2 separate regions of the Homo sapiens genome follow, and region 1 is linked to region 2. Evidence: promoter capture Hi-C in 16 types of primary human blood cells and fetal thymus (Javierre and others, 2016). All regions are on one chromosome and are shown on one strand. Each heading gives the region's core, a stretch centred on a gene start or on the middle of the fragment in contact. The rest is flanking DNA. Distances are from core to core; before and after follow the strand shown.

Region 1 (2,876 bases), core at 47-2,546, 120 kb before region 2:
GAGGGCGGCTATTCCCAAGAGTCTCCAGACCTATAGTGAACTTTGTGAGAACAAGAAATAAACATTTGTTCTGTTAAATCACTGAGACATTGGTGCTATGTGTTTCTGTAGCATAACCTGCCCTATCTTTTTTTTTTTTCTTGAGACGGAGTCTCGCTCTGTTGCCCAGGCTGGAGTGCAGTGGCGCAATGTCAGCTCACTGCAAGCTCCGCCTCCTGGGTTCATGCCATTCTCCTGCCTCAGCCTCCCAAGTTGCTGGGACTACAGGTACCCGCCACCACGCCTGGCTAATTTTTGTATTTTTAGTAGAGATGGGGTTTCACCTTGTTAGCCAGGATGGTCTTGGTCTCCTGACCTCGTGATCCACCCGCCTCGGCCTCCCAAAGTGCCGGGATTACAGGCGTGAGCCACCGCACCTGGCCAACCTGGCCTATCTTAATAGAGCTTGGAAAAGGGCAGCTGGGGGAGTGACTGTTTTGCTGGAGCTCTGGACCTTTCCATTTTCATTCTGCCTAGCCTTTGGCCCTCAAAAGAGACCTGGCTTCCCGTGGATACTAAACTGAGCTGATGCAACACTAATGGGACCACTTAAGACCTCCCAAGACTGTAGATGATAGGGAAGAAAGACATTGCTGTCTTGGACAAATCTTATGGGAGGTCAGTTCAAGGGGACAAGGCAACCCTCCTTCCCTATCTGGCCTTATTCCACTTCCCTTATTCTTTGTCTCCCTGCGCGTTGCCTCATGCACAAAACAGGCATTGCTATTGATGAATGGGCTATGGTGGGGGTTAGGGGGTAGGGATTGCCTTCCTCATATGCATGCAGGAGATTTCAAAGAATGGTTTGTTAACTACCTCTGTTGTATCTTCAGTGAGTTGTGCCTCAGAAAACAGATGAGATATAGGGCAAAAGCAAATTTGTCCAGATCAGTGTAGACAGTAAGGTGGCTATCTTCCTGGACTAAGGGATGACGGACAACTGGGGAGAAACTTGGGCAGGGAGGCAGGAGCAAGACAGTTCCACCTGTGGAGTGAGAATCCTCCAGGGGGAAAGTCGTAGCTTAGCCAGTACCCAGCTGCTGCACATAACATGATGTCTCATAACAACCTTGGAATTTGTGGGGTGGGGAGTGGAAGAAGGGATTTCTGTAGCTTGAGATGAGATTGGATTACTAAAATGATATCAGATGATATGAGAACAAATTACTTAAACCATGATATTAAAATCTATTGAGGCTTGCTTTAAAAATGAAATGAGAGACACATAATCCTAGGTTTAGCCTTAAACATTAGTACTAAATGCACTAATTAGTACTAAATGCACAAATATGTCCTCCATAAACCGGCAGATGATTTCCAGGAAACAAGAAGGATGCTTTATTTTAGCATGTTCAGATAGCAGCCTTACCGTGGCTTCACGGTTATTTCAGAGAACTGTATCATTGACCCCGTCTAGTCTCCTGACCTGTCCCCTGCACTAGTCTAAGTTCAGTGCTGGGACCATCCCAGACCTAGAGTTCTCCCTGCCGTTAAGCAGACTGGACCTTGAGCTCACCTTGAGAACCTCAGATATATTTTATTTTTGAGACAAGGGTCTCTGTTGCCCAGGCTGGGGCTCACCACAGCCTCGATCTCCCAGTCTCAAGCAATCCTCCCACCTCAGCCTTCTGAGTATCTGGGACTCCAGGCACGTGCCACCATGCCTGGGTTATTATTTTTTTACTTTTAGTAGAGATGAGGTCTTGCTATGTTGCCCAGGCTGATCTTGAACTCCTAAGCTCAAGTGATCCTCCTGCATTGGCCTCCCAAAGTACTGAGATTACAGGCATGAGCCACCATGCCCAACCTCAGATATCTTTTAACTGGAGGGGAAGAACAGGAGGGGCTTAGAATCAAAGTAAATCTCAAAACTAAAACTCCTAGGGTTTCTGTTAACTTTTGGAACTACTGAGAACAGTGTTTAATTTCCCAGGTAAGTTTGAGGAAGAACGCCCAGCAGCCTCTTTTATCCAAATGGACAATTGGTAACAAAAGATGGGAGTTCATAAAGGATTTTCCAAATATTTGTTGAGTCATGCCACTGAAGCATTTACTCCAGCATTTCCTGGTCACTCCTCCCTGTCATGTGTGATGAAGGCTGCCCTGTTACTCTTCTCTTGGAGGTTTTCTAGTGCATAAATACTTGCTGAAGCTCTCCCCACATTCTCTGTGGACTGAATTCTCTCCTATGTAGACTCTCTGAAGTCCCCTCAAGTGGGAAACAAAGTTTTGCCCATACTTCACGTTTCTACTGTTTGTCCCAGTAGAAATCCACCCAAACAAAAAGCATACTTTTGTTTCTGAATCTTTTCTACACCTGTCACTTTTTCTTGTGTGGGTTCACTGGGGACCGAGATGAGGGCACTGTTTGAAACATCAACCAAATTTGCTACATGCCTAGGTTTCCTTCATGTATTAATCCTCCACTGGGCAATGGTAGTTGGGCTGTACTGAAATGCCTTCTTCAGTCGAGCGTCTGTAAGGCTTTTCTCCTGTACGATTCACCCAAATCTGATAATGCGTGTACTTTGCCTAAAGCAGTTCGCCTAGTCTGAATCCCTCCTGTGAAAGGAATTAAGCAAGCTACCTTTTGCATTGCATTTCAGATTTAAGAAAACTATCTGAATCACTTTTCATTTCTGCCACAGTTCAGATAATGAATCTTGAGTTGCACCAATCTTAGCGCTGACATTAAAAATCAAGCTTTACAGTGTTTGGATATGATGCACCTTTTAGGAGAAACTAAGAAAGCTTACTGTTGAAATTTTTTTTTTTGACAAGTTAACATTTATTTTTGGGCCTTTCTTCCTATGTGTATTTCAAGTCTTTTTCAAAAC
Region 2 (2,700 bases), core at 200-2,699:
GATTCTCCCAACATCCTTCCCTTTGCTATTTCCTCTCGTCCCCATGACACTCATTGCTAAGCTCACTCCAGCACTTCATCCAGGCCTACCCCACCTTCTCTAACGGTGTGATAAATTAATCACTTGGGATTTATTATTACTCAACGAGTGTGGAGTCTAGAAATGTGCTTAATTTAAAAATTCATTCAAATTGGAGAAGTACCAAATCTGTAATTTTGGGAACCATTCCAGAAAGTCACTTTTAATCCTAGCACTTTGGGGAGCCGAGGTGGGAGGATAGCTGAAGGCCAGGAGTTCCTTGGCAAAGCAGCAAGACTCCATCTCCATAAAGAAGTTTTAGGCCGGGCGCAGTGGCTCACACCTGTAATTCCAGCACTTTGGGAGACCGAGGCGGGCGGATCACAAGGTCAGGAGATTGAGACCATCCTGGCTAACACGGTGAAACCCCGTCTCTACTAAAAATACAAAAAATTAGCAGGGCGTGGCGGCAGGCGCCTGTAGTCCCATCTACTCGGGAGGCTGAGGCAGGAGAATGGCATGAACCCGGGAGGCGGAGCTTGCAGTGAGCCGAGATCGCGCCACTGCACTCCAGCCTGGGCGACAGAGCGAGACTCTGTATCAAAAAAAAAAAAAAAAGAACTTTTAAAAGTAGCCAGACACTGTGGTATGCGCGCCTCTCAGATACTCGAGAGGCTGAGGCGTAAGGATTCCCTGAGTTCCAGACGGAGCTATGATATCAGCACTGCACTCCAGCCAGACAAGCAACACTCCAGCGACAAGGCCAGACCCTATCTCCAAACAAAACAAAACAAACAGATAAGACATTGAGAAACTCTCTCAGAGATTCCTCCACAGGTCCCTGCTCCCAGTTGGTAGTTCTGAAAGAAGGAAGTTGGTAAACCATTATGTGTGTGGTCTTGGAACGAAGAACACTTGGTCAAAGGGCTATTTGGGGCTCAGGAGCACTCCTACCACAACAGGCATGCCCAACTCTCCTCCAAAGGAGGGGGTCAGGCAGAGACCGAAAGCAGCAATAAACTTGGACGAAAAAGGTACCTCGACTCACCTGGGCCTCGGGCGTCGGGGGCATGGACGCCATTTGGCGGGTGGGGAATGCCTTCTTCAAGACGCCACAGGGACTTCGTGACAAAGCTGCGGGGGGAGAGAACAGTTCTTAAAGGGACCAATTCCGCTGCCAAGTTCCTCCACTACCCCTAGCCTCCCTCGATTCCCTCCGAACCCCCCCTTAAAAACCTACGCCGACTGCTCCTCCTCTTGGCCCGGCCTCGAAAGGGGCCCACTTACCGCTCCGCGGTTAATAACAGGCCTCGCGCTCCCTGACAGGAGCTGCAGAAAGCGACGCCCGACCGAGACGCGACGAAGAACGCCACGGCCACTGCAAAACTCCCACGCTCTCATGCTCCTTTACGCAGGAGCTGCGGGAAAAGCCGCCGGAAGCGACCCGCCCTCAGCCCTCTCCGCCATCCTGCCCTTTGATTGGTCGAAGTTCTCCCGAAGGGGAAGTCCTTCTTTTGTGTTGACCAATTGAACACCTTAACCGAGGACCTGTAGCCACTGGGCAGCTGCGAGAGGTAGTTTTCCTCCTTTTCTCTAAGCAACCATTTCCGCTTCCGCTGGCGGGGTCTCCTCCGTGAGCTCCGGGCCTGTTTGCCTGCTGAAGTAGAGTCTTAGGGTGACCCCAGGGGGACGTAATGTTTCCGAGAAGAAGGACAGAAAGAAGACTGGGAGACACCGGAACTCGAAAGAAAATCGGTAACAAAATGTGGGTTCGGCCAACAGTGCCCTGTAGGCCTGAAATTTCGGTCTGGCCAGAGCAAGGTGATTGAGAGGGCGGGGGTTCGGGCCTAGCCTGGGCTTGAGCTGTCCTTTGTGTCTTGAGCGGATGGTGGGGCCGTGGAACATGAAGGAGTATCTTTGTGTACGTTCACAACGTTCACATCGGTGTAGGCCAGGTTGCTGGACTCTGACTCAAAGTGTTATAGAGGCATTACGTATTGTACCCGCAGCTGCAGCCTAAGCGAGCTGCTTCAGCTTCCTAGTCACAGGATCCCACGCGAGAATAGAGCCATAGGTTAGCGTCGCAGGACGTTGTTCGCCCCCGGATACCTCACATGCAGCCTACCCTAGAGCCAGTCATTTCCTATTGTGTGCTGGGGGAGGAGGGAGTGCCCTGGTGTAGGCATTTGGAATTGGAAAATTGAGCTCCTCCCCAAGCTCTGCCACTGATTGGTTGGTAATCTTGGCCAGTTTACAACTTTGCTTTCCTCAGCTGCAAACAGCTCAGAGTGCCTCTCTGGGCTAACTCAGAGGGTAATTTCAAAGATTATAAGATAATGTAAGTGAAAGAAATTGCCAGTTTATAAAGGTGTTTGGGGAAAAAAAAAGACGAAAATGATAGGTACCTTGATAGAAAAGCCTGAAAAGTCTCAACATATTTCCTTATTCCAGTGCCAGGCACATTCCTGTATCTAAAAGCTTAATGAATGGCTGCATGGTTATTAAAACAATATTAGGAGATTTGACAACTTAGGTAATGTGATTTTGTGGAATATCTGATAGGATAGTTTCAGCTACAAGTAACAGAAAACCCACCGAAAGGATGTTCAAAGAGCAGTTACAGGTTGGTTAATTCGGTGGCCCAGTGACAACATCAAGGTCCCAGTGCTTCTCTGCCACCCT

What was found. The method cuts DNA at HindIII sites, captures the fragments that hold promoters and counts their contacts. A CHiCAGO score of 5 or more calls a contact.
Region 1: a contact is called between a fragment that was not itself captured here and the fragment with the promoter of ZNF597 in region 2, in 6 of 17 cell types (M1 macrophages, total CD8 T cells, naive CD4 T cells and 3 more). The highest score is 6.5, in M1 macrophages.

What each region holds. Positions count from the first base shown.
Region 1 is chr16:3,319,922-3,322,797 of GRCh38, forward strand. It overlaps a transcript of ZNF75A not described here. Among named protein-coding and RNA genes, the nearest start is that of ZNF75A, 16 kb to the left of the region's middle. The HindIII fragment of the contact is 2,887 bases long and covers 1-2,740 here.
Region 2 is chr16:3,442,055-3,444,754 of GRCh38, forward strand. It overlaps ZNF597 (zinc finger protein 597), which reads right to left and starts at 1,450. Exons shown (of 4, transcript NM_152457.3): 1 at 1,306-1,450; 2 at 1,067-1,152. The coding sequence starts at 1,099. It overlaps NAA60 (N-alpha-acetyltransferase 60, NatF catalytic subunit), which reads left to right and starts at 1,626. Exons shown (of 8, transcript NM_001083601.3): 1 at 1,626-1,783. RefSeq lists an enhancer at 1,710-1,859. The HindIII fragment of the contact is 9,083 bases long and covers 1-2,494 here.